Regions from separate parts of the Homo sapiens genome. Here region 1 is linked to region 2. Evidence: promoter capture Hi-C in human tissues and cell types (Jung and others, 2019). All regions are on one chromosome and are shown on one strand. Each heading gives the region's core, a stretch centred on a gene start or on the middle of the fragment in contact. The rest is flanking DNA. Distances are from core to core; before and after follow the strand shown.

The links. Contacts are between HindIII fragments. The study calls those that stand out against the background at their distance.
Region 1: a fragment that was not itself captured here is called in contact with the fragment with the promoter of KCNH2 in region 2 in 1 of the 25 tissues and cell types used here (ovary).

The regions. Positions count from the first base shown.
Region 1 is chr7:150,913,031-150,918,466 of GRCh38, forward strand. No RefSeq gene overlaps it. Among named protein-coding and RNA genes, the nearest start is that of KCNH2, 63 kb to the right of the region's middle. The HindIII fragment of the contact is 7,230 bases long and covers 443-5,436 here.
Region 2 is chr7:150,975,916-150,981,271 of GRCh38, forward strand. It overlaps KCNH2 (potassium voltage-gated channel subfamily H member 2), which reads right to left and starts at 2,406. Exons shown (of 15, transcript NM_000238.4): 1 at 1,923-2,406. The coding sequence starts at 1,998. LOC124901776 (a long non-coding RNA gene) reads left to right here. Exons shown (of 3, transcript XR_007060592.1): 2 at 621-796; 3 at 930-1,440. RefSeq lists an enhancer at 1-704 and a silencer at 3,074-3,423. The HindIII fragment of the contact is 28,056 bases long and covers 1-5,356 here.

The DNA of each region.
Region 1 (5,436 bases), core at 2,808-5,307, 61 kb before region 2:
TCCTATATATGTTTTTAAAAATGCATTACCTATATCGACTAGACCCACAGATATCTCTGAGGATATTCACCACTGTGTAAACAGTGGTTATCTCTGGGTGGTAGGCTTAAGGAAGTTTTTTTCTTTATTCTTTAAAATTCACTGATTCATCTGAATTTTCACTAAGTATGTGAGTTATATTTATGACCAGAAAAACACTGAGAAGTATCCAAGGGGAAGACCACCAAGGACCTCGCAGACGCATCACCTTGTGCACTGACTACATTGTAGGGTCCTGTCTCAGCTCTGCTAGCCCAGAAACTCTGCTTAGCACCTGCATCAGTGAAGACCACCACCAACTCTGGCTTAAACAGACAGGAGCTTATTTTCTACAATGTCCAGAACAAGGCAAGTGGGGGCTGGGGCAGCTTCTCATGGATGTCACCAAGGAGCCACAGCCCCTCTCTCTCTCCTTCCTCTGATATCCTTGAGTGTAGCTTTTGTCTTCATTGTCACAAAATCGCCGCTGCACTTCCAAGCCTCACAATCATGTTCTAGGTAGAAAGAAATGGGAAGGGCAAAAAGGTTTTCTCCAGCAGGGCTTTACCTTTGTTATCGTGAAAAAGGATACACTCCCTATAAACTTCCGCCCACGTTGCATTGGCCAGAACTGTGGCACACAGCTCCCCTGAGCTTCAGGAGGGTCTGGAGGGTGAGTATTTTAGCTGGCATGTGGATTCTACTAACAGGGAAGAATGGAAAATAGATAACAGTGGCAACTGTCAGTGGTGCACAGCCTCCCTGGGGAATCGTTCTAGCAGAGAATGGTTCCTGCCCGCAATAGACTGATAGATGAACCAGGGTCCAGTGGATTCGTTCCCACTCCAACCACCAGAATGACCTTCCCACCAGAACACTGTCTTTCCCAGGATCAGAGAACTGGTACGTAAAATTGTTAAACTAAACATTGCCTGTGAACATGGAATTTGGTCCATGGCAGGTGCTAATATTGGAGGGCATCTCCCCAACGCTATGATATGGCCTGATGACTCTCCCTGCCCGAGACATCAGCGCTCCAGCATCCTGGATGCTCACAACACTCAAATTCCATGTCCCCCGGACAGTGCTGGGCAGACACCGTCAACATCCATCTCTCGGACTCCCCATTTTGTGGGTTGTCTATCCCCAAGTCGCCCTTCCTCTGCTCGCATTATTTATTTAGCTTTATTAAAGTCATGTCTGATTTACCTTTGGCCTAGAAGGCAACCTGTCTCCTGCCATTTGCATTGATTCTAGTAACCAAGCTCTCCTGGGGGCCTTTCTTTTGTCCCCACAGGGGCAGCCAAGTGTTAAGCTCTGCAGACTCATGAAGCCAGCGATGTTGGGCTAGTGAGGGCTCTCTCCCTGTGTCTTGCCAGCACCTCAAAATTCTATCCTCCCAGGAGTGGTTGCAGTGTTAAGGGCTGTTTTGCGCAGAGAAGAAAAGGTTGAGGGGACCCGAGCATTTGCCTAACATATCTGAGTCGTTGTCAGAGGCTGGGCTTATGGAGCAGCTGGAAGGAGAAGCAGGACCAACAGATGCAAGGCACTAGAAGACAGATTTCGCCTACAACAGGCACTGTCCAGCGAAGTCAAGCATGCTCTGTTCCTGGACAGGGGTCCATCCATCTGGGCTGTGGTGGAGGGGATTTTCATTTTGCATGGATTCAAAGGAACATTCCAGCAGTAAGGAAAGTACATTCACCACCACTCCAGGTTCAATCCCCCAGAGTTTTAAATTTCTCCCATCTTTTTCTGGTTTCCCTTCTCCTTCTGAGAAATTTAGACATCTTTTTTTAAAATGTCCTTACTGCCAGCCTCTCCATCACATTCCTGGTCCCAATCCAGACCTGAGTGTGGAAGTGTGAACCCCCTTTTCTAATAGGACATCTGAGGCCACCATGGGATTTGCTAAAGGAATTGTTATGGGGTTCTCATTCAAAGGAAAATGCAAAATGTTGTCATGTTTGTGGAGTAAAGAACTAAGATACGTGAGTCAGCCCGTCAGTCTCCCTCATGTTTCCTGGCCTCCCATGCATTTCAATGGGGCCATGAAACTGGCTCCAAGCAAAGCTCCAAGCTGGTGTGTCTCTTCGGTCACCACCTGGTAGCCACTCTCCACATGGCAGCCACTACAGAGGCCGCCTGCTGAGAGGGCAGAGTCACAGGATGTGAGCCCCTCGACCTCTGTCATGGCAGGGAGGAGCACTGCCTGGGACCTTGCCCTAATGAGAAATAAACCACGGTTGAGGTTTATTTCTTAACCATGGTTAAGGTTTTGGAGTTGGCTTACTACAGCAGTGAGCATGGCTTAACCTAACTAAACACTTGCCAAGCTTTTCACATATCCTTTAAATTGCATGACCACATATGGGGAGATCCTGTCACTAACCACTTTACAGGTACAATAAATGAGGTCCTTTAAGCAATGACTCTGAGGTCACACAGCCAGCACATGTTGGAGCTCATATTTGAACCCAAGTCAATCCAACTCCAAGGCAAATGTTTTCCCCACTCTATACTAACTCCCTTTCTTCAAAGAGGATAGTCCCAAATTAATTCTGTTGACTGGGGATTCTTTTTCCTCCCCTAAACCCCATCTAGAGAACTCAACCCAAAAGAACTTCTTTATATGCTCAAAGCTCTCCTCTATACCTCGCTCCTGTCCACTCTGCAAGCCCCTCAGCCAAGAGACAGCTGGAGGAGCATCCTCCAGCTAGAGAAAACATGACCACACACCCAGGCCTAGGCCACGCACGCCCGGGCCCCTTGCTTCACCACACAGAAAGCTGGAGGCTGTTTCCCACAAATACAAGTTGACCTAGAGGACATGTAAGTCCCATTTTAATGTCCAAGTGCTAGAATTTCATGAAGTAGCTGAAAAGTTATGAGGGCTCAAGTGTAGCAACAACAGTGGGATGAACTGGGTCAATCAGGGAGGGAAGGACACCTGGATCTGAGAACGCTGATCAGGGAGGTGAAGGACAGGCTGGAGATGCAGGCAGTGCTGACCAGTGGGGAAATGCCAAGTCTGGGATCTCAGAAGCCTGATGCAGCTAAGGCCAAGACAGGATGGAGTTCAGGTATGTCTACAGCGAGGTGGAGATGGAGGGAGCCTGCAAGTTATGCTCACCATAATGTGTGTGCCCCAGGAATGGAGTGACGAGAAGTCAGGATCATCCAGGAGAGGGGGTAAGGCCAGAGGGCACCAGCCACACAGATTGTTGGGACTGTGTGTTGCAAGGGATGGCGTGCCTTTGAAGTGGAGTGGCAGAGGGTGGGGTGCGGGAGCGAGCGCAGGTCACAGTGCCTCCTGTCCTCCTAGAGTGGAGAGAAGTTGATTCTCTAAGAAGGGGAGAGAGCAGTTTGGATCCTATGGTGTGAGATGGCTTTCCCCTTACCTTCTTGGAAATTGCCCTGGACCATCGAGCAGAAAGGAAAACCAAAACACAGTGGCCATACCTGATGAAGCTAGGAGACAGATAGGTCTCTGAACAATATCCTCTCCAAATGGAGTGAAGACTGCGCATGCAGGATGAGAGGAGAGAGTCCTTGGCAGTGGTGGCTCAGGAGGATGAGGGTGCAGCCCAGAGAGAAAACCTGGGACTCCTCACTTCCAACAGTGGAGGCAGACCCCAGGGGGCCTCCCAAGACCGAATCGGATCCCAAGAAGCAGAGGCGGGTGAAGGTGCAGTCACACTGATGAGCGCTTTTTGTAGGAAGCAGTCTGTCCAGAGGACCCATGGAGATGCGCCACCCAAACCCTGCTTTGAGGAAGGACCTGTCCCACCTTCTGCAAGTGCCATCAGGGGCGACCTCGAGCTGTCAGCCTCGCCAGGGCTTCTTCAGCTGAGGACCACTGCTCATCCAGGTCACATCAGCTTGTGTGCAACCCATATCCAAAGACTAATGGAAGCAGAAGTATCAAAGTTCACCACATCTGCCCAACCCCAGACAACTCTCTTGTTCCTTTCGGCCCCGGACCTCCTCATGGGTGAGCAGAGGCTGTCAGGCTGCATCCCAGCCCAACAACTGCCTCTGCCCATTCCTGCTTCCCCTCCTCCCTTCCTCAGGCATTGACCCAAGGGCACATATAATAAGCATCCTAATCCAGACTGTGACCCCTGAGGCAGCAGAAGAGTGCCCCCGCCAAGATGTCCTCATTATAATCTCCAAAACCTGTGAACACGCTACTTTACTTGCCAAAAGGGACTTCGCAGGTATGATTAAATGAAGGATCTTGAGATGCTGAGATTAGCCTGGATTTTCCAGGTGGGCCCAATGTAATCACAAGGGTTCTTATGAGAGGCAGGAATGTCCAAGAGAGAGATCTGGAGATGCTGTGTTTATGCATTTGAAGATGGAGGACCAGGCCATAAGCTAAGGGATGTCGTTGACCTCCAGGCACTGAAAAAGACAAGGAAGTGGATTCTCCCCTAGAACCACCAGAAGGAACATAGCCCTGCAAACATCTTGACACCACTTTATATCTTACAGTTCTGGAGATCCAAAAGGGGTCATAAATCATTTTGCCCACTATGACCCCTTTTGGATCTACAGAACTGTAAGATATAAAGTTGTGTTATTTTAAGCCAAATGTGCATTGTTCTAAGTTTGCAGTGTTTGTTACTACAAATATGAAAGTAATACACACCCTAACGCAACAGCAGAAGAAAGACTTTGCATTGCAGACAGCTCTACACCTTCCTATCCCTGCTGAGCGGAGAAAAGAAAAAGTTTAAACAAATTCTGTTTTTTAAAATATATGTATAATTCACAGGTTCATTTGTGTCAGCCTAGAATGGCCCCGGCCCCTACCTCTTACGAACCTCCTGCAAATATCTGGTCCAAGAAAAACTTGTCTGCATCAAAGAAGGATAATATTTAGATCTATACACAATCTATACAAAAATATTATAGACTAAAAATGAGAGAAAAATGGCAGATAAAAAACACTTGTCAAAAATGTGTTGCAATGAACAGATGAAAAGCATATCCAAATATTTTGCCATGAATTTTTTAAACTTAAGTAACAGCTCAAGAAAGAGATGGTGAGAAAACAGAAGGATATGAAAAGAAAGCTGGCAAAACCCAGGAAAGAGTAGAATCAAAATTTAAATCATCACAAAAATGAAGACAAAACTGGAAGCAGCACGAGAAAGTACTTCGGAACCCAGAAGGGGGAAACGGATTAGACGGGCGAGCGAAATGAAAGGCAAACAAAGAGAGAAAGTGACAGCTATGAAGGAAGGCAGAGGAGCTGCAACTCCCACAAAATTGGAATGCACGAAGAAGAAACACAGCCACAAAACAAATATTTTAAACAATAATTCATGCACAGTTCCCTAATGAGACAAGGCACTTTTTCATGTTTCTTGGCCATTTGGCTGTCCTATTTTGCAATGTGCTTGTTCTGTT
Region 2 (5,356 bases), core at 1,156-3,655:
GAGGCCTTCCTCAGTTTGGCCTCATCCTGGATGAGCACCCCCATGGTTCCATTTCTGCCAGACTTGGCTCCCTGACTCCAGGCCTGCCCGGAGAGCCAGGCTGGCGAGTGAGCAGCAGGCAGGCAGCAGCCTCACTTGTGCCAGGCAAGATGCTCCTGGGATAAGAGCTTTTTATAAACAGAAGTTTCCGGCCACTTTGGCCTGTAATGCTGGGGCTTTCAGTAGCAGTTGGAATTCTCCCCCTCCCTTCCCCTCCCCTCCCCAGCAAGCATAGCCCTCAGGTTGCAGCCCTAGGCAATCCTACGTGCAAAGCTGGGCTGCAGCAGGGCACCCTGAGATAGGCCCAGGCCATCAGGACTTGGCCTCCTCCCACCTTTCTCGATTCTCCCTTCCCCTGGCCCCCAGAAAGTTGCCTTTTGGAACTGGTTCATCTTTTGGCCAGTTCCCAAGGCCCCCCAGACCTCCCAGGCAGCCATCAATTCCAGGAGTCAGGGTTTCCTGTCACCTGAAAAGACCCCCTAACTCGGCCTCCAGCTCTGCCACAGTCCAAGGCAGTCCAGAGGCCCAGCCACACACCCCAGCTTCATAGAAGAAAAACCACCCCTTGTCCTCTCTCCCAGGCTGGGGAAAGAAGAGCAAGTTTCTTCGAAGGCATGCCCCACCCCACCACACACCCTTCACTGAGATCCTGGAATACAGGGATGGGACAGAAAGCCTGCCCCTCCTCCACAGACCTGGAACCTGAGACCCAAAGAGGGAAGAGTCACTCAAGGTCACATGGCAGTCAGTGGCAAAGGTAGGGCTAGAATCCAGCACCCCCCCCCACATCCATCCCAGCCTCCTCGTAGGCCCGCCCACAGCCTCCCCCTGGGCCCACCCCCACCTCTCAGGGAGGCCCTCAACCAGTGTCATTGTCTCCACCCCCTCAGGATCATCTTGTTCCTCCGCTTCACACAATACTGACCATCGGACTGACCCCTCCTTCCCCCAACCACCGTTACAAGCACGCGTTGTCCTGTGCTCACAGGGTCATGGACAAGGAATGTCATCCTCTCCCAACTCCCAGGGCCCTTGGCAGTCACACCCACTGTGGCTCATGCAGCCTTAGGGACAGGCACATGAATGCTGCCCACCCCCAGGACATTTGCCTAATCTGGGACCCTTCTAGAAGCCTCCCTACCAGGCAGGCATTAGGGGTGCTGTACTCCCGGTCCCCATAAGGGAATTAGGTGACAGTCTCCAGGGCAAGAAAACCCACAACTTGGGGGTACCACAGGGAGCTGCTTACCCTCAAAGCCCAGCTCTAGCCCCAGGACACCCTGTCTCCACAGAGCCCACAAGCTCGCAGCCTTGTCAAAGACACCTCCCCACCGCCCATACAGGGTCTAACTCACGGGTGACACATGGGCTCAGGGTTATATACACACGGCACACACAAGAAGAGATTATGAGCTGACCCTGCATCCACGGCTTTTCAGTCCCTCCGGCACAACACAGTCAAGATCTGGCAAGACCAGTGTGCGCGCTGGACTCTCGGGATCCCAGGGTTTGGGTCGTACACACTCTTATGCCCTTGCACACAGCCCCATCCACGTCCACGCACCCAGAGTTGGGGACACCTGCACACTCCATCCCACATCCCTTCCCTGCACACTCAGCGTGTCACACACACTCCGATCCCAAAAGCCTGAGCTGAGTTTCCCGCCCCAAGCCCCAACCCCAAACCCTTTGGCCCGGTGCCCACGGCCCCGGTGCACCAAGCCTTGCCCCCGCCGTCCCCTCGCCAAAGCCTGGGGCCCACCAGGCCCCATTGACTCGCACTTGCCGACGCACACGGCCCGGGCACGCCCCCCCATCCACACTCGGAAGAGCTCGGCCCGCCCCCAGAGCCCCCTCCCCGCTCAGCCCCCTCCCCCACTCACTCTGGCCCTCAAACTTGCGGATGATGGTGTCCAGGAAGGTGTTCTGCGGCGCGACGTGGCCCCTCCGCACCGGCATCCTGAGCCCATGGGCGGGCCGGGCGGGCCCCCACCCACCCCGGCCCGGCCCGGCCCAGCACTAGGCTTCGGGTGGCCCGGCCGGGCCGTGGTCCCCGCACCCCGCGGCCAAGCCGAGCACGGGCGCGGCCAAGACTGGACTGCGGGCGCCGGGTCCTCGCTCGGCTCCCGGCTCCCCGCTCCGGACCCCGGGCCCGGCCTGGAGCCGCCTGAGCGCGAGCCGCCCGCCGCCGGCACACCTGTCTGCCGGCCCCCGCCGAGCCGCGGGGCCCGCTCCGCCGCGTCCCCGCGCTGCGCTCCGCCCGCCCGAGCCCCGGACTCCTGGCTCCCGCCTGCCACCGCGCCGACAGCCGCTCCAGCGCCCGCGGCTCGGGCAGCGCCTGCGGCTCGGCCCGGCCGCGGAAGGGTTAATGCGGCGCGCGCCCCTCCGGCTCCGGCCCCCGCCTCCCGGCCCCCTCCCGCCTGCCGCGCGCCCGCAGCACCGCCCTCTCCCCCCCCCATCCCGCCCCACCGCGCGCGCCCGACCTTCCCATTGGCTGAGCCGCGCCGAGTGCTCCCCCAACGCCAGCCCCTCGCTCTGCCAAGGAGCCCCTGGGACTCGCGCGCCCAGAAGAGGGGGAAGGGACCCTTAGGCAGGGGAAACCGTGAGGACAGGTGCCATGGCCGGCTTGTAGGCGGCCGGGATGGGGGAAGGGATTCCACCCCCACCCCAGATTAGCGACTAAGAAACCTGATTTGAAGGGAAACGGCGGGTCCTTATGCCCTGGTTCCCCACCACGCCGAGCACTGGCTTGGTATACACAGCACGCGCTCAGTGCCTACTGTGGGTGACCGGGGCAACGCCTGGACCCTCGAAGACGAGCCCGGAGTCAAGGGAGACCCTGGAAATAGGAAAAGCAAGACAATCTGAAGGCCCCAGAGCAGCAGAGCTCTGAAATAAGGGAGGGTTAAACTTAGAAGGGGCACGCCCCCTGCCCCAACACACACACACACACACACACACACACACACACACACATACACACACACACACACACACACACACACACACACATACACACACACACACGGAGAGAGAGAGAGCCCTCTGTGGGGCTCTGCATAGGAGCTGCACAGAGAGGGACATTCTGACAGCAGTTGCGGCCTCCTAGCTGCAGGATCAAAGAGAGGTCCCTGAGCGCGAGGTTCCAACCAGGGGATCCCCGGGTGCGAGCGGCCCGCCCTCCCCCGGCAGCCCGGGGCCAGCCTTGCACGCCCAATCGGCGGGCTCGGGGCCCTGCGGCGGCGGCCACGGCCCAGCCCCTCGGAAAGCCCTGGCCTAGCCGCAGGCCCCTCCCCCCGGCCAGCTGGCTCGCTCCAGCTGCGGCTCCCTTATTTAGGCAAGGAGGCCTAGGGATGCTCAAGGGCAGGCGGGGTGTCTGCCCCGCCGCCTGCTCATCGCCTGCTTGCGTCTGAGTGAGGGTCTCCGGGCGCGGTGTCCTCGGACTTAGCAGTCAGGCAGGGCCCCGGGAAGGCCAGGGCGGGGAGGCGAGTGTTGACAGCTGAGTGGGCGGGCGGGGAGGGAGGAGTCGCAGCTGAACAGCCGAGGGTCCCCTCCCTGCAGCCGGATCAGAGACCTGTCTAGATGGATGGGGCCATGTGGGGGCTCCTGAGGGCTTGCAGCTGCCTCTGTCCTTGGAGCAGGGGCTGGGTCTTGTCACCAGCGAGAACCATCATGGGGGGAGGGGAAGAACAAAGGGCAGGGAAGGAATCGGAGTCCCGAAGGAGGAAGGCGCAGAAAACTGTCGTCGTGAGACCACCCTACCCGGACTCTCACCTTCCACCCAGGAGCACAAAGATGCAAACACTGGGGCCAAATGGGGCCACTGGCCAGCAGATGACACTCTTTTTTATTTGCTGGTGGGTGGGCAGTGACTCAGGGAGGCAGCCAGTGGGAGAGAAGGAGGTGGCTCCACAGCTGATGCTAAAAAAGTCCAGAGGCTCTTGCCTGTGCAGTTATTCCTCAGGCCCTCTCCACTGCCAGCAGTTTCCTCACTCACCCCCCCGGGGGCCCAGGGCCTTCCACAGCACAAGCTCCTCCTTGGTGTAGCATTTGGCATCAGGTGCATCAACACATCTGGGTTCCGGGTAGAACCTAGTCCACGACTGGCCCAGCCCCCGCCACGCCCCAAGGCCACCCCTGGCTGCTGGGTTGCCTACCATGAATCCAGGATGATTCATGTGTGAGTGAAGTGTCCTCCTGTCCAGGCCAGGGGATGGAGAGAAAGTGAGCAAAGGCCAGCAGCTGAGAATGGGCATGGGAGGGCAAGAAGGGAAAGGGACATCTGTAGCCTCCCCCTCTCTCCAGACCAAGGGAGAGGGAGAGCCAGGCCCTGAAGGGAAGGAGCCACTCATCTGAGCTGGCCAGCTGTCCTCCACTCCTGTACCCGTGTTGCTGGGACAGGCCTCTGCTCTTATCCCAAAGGGAAGACAGGAGTCAGAGGAGCCCTTCATCCTCCCAAACAGAGAGGAGCCCAGGCACGGGGTAGCCCTCCTTCTGTGCACAGAGGCAAGAAGAGAGCTGTTCCCTCAAGCTGAGGAGAGACAGATCTCTCCCTCTCTCCCCCCAGCCCACTCCACATACTCAGAAGTCAAAGCTGAATGTAGATTTCTGACTTCCTTGGAGGCTCAGGGTAGAGCCTGAAGGCAGACCCACTTAGCCGCCCCCACACTCAAGAATTGAGCTGAGGAAGAGAAACGGTGAGAGGGGGCAAGCTCTCCCCAAAGCAACATTTCTGGGCCTCAGATGAGCTGATGGAGAAGCCCCCACTGCCTTCAACTTCCCACCTCTGCTACCCCCAGATCTGGGACAAAGAGAAAAGTGCCCAACCCTAATACCAAGAGCTGGGCTGTTAAGCCTCTAGAATCTGCCCCACCCCCATCTCAGCTCCAAGAGCCATTTCAGAGACCATTCCTGGGAAGAGCTCTCCCGCACCCTGCCTGTGACTGAGGGAACAGAGAGGCTACAGTGAGATATCCAGGCTCCTCCCAGCTCCCAAAAAGAAACAATTTAGGGAGAAAAGTCTGCAGAAAGCATCCTACCCACCCTGCTCTCTGCTCCTGCTCAGTCCGAAGGCATGGAGCCAGGACATCCTGGAAGGAGAAAGAGAAATGGAAGCCCACTCTGCCAGAGGTCCCCCAAGGAGCGGGCCAGGCAAGACACCACCAAAGTCAGGCCCAGGAGAGCCTGGGGTTACCCACAGGGGATTGGGAAGCAGTTCCAGTCGGCTGGGCACAGGAGAGACAGGTTACAGAGCAATGGTTCCTGGGAAACCCTGGGGAAGGAAGAACAGAGTGAGCAGGTCCCTTGATGCTTGAAC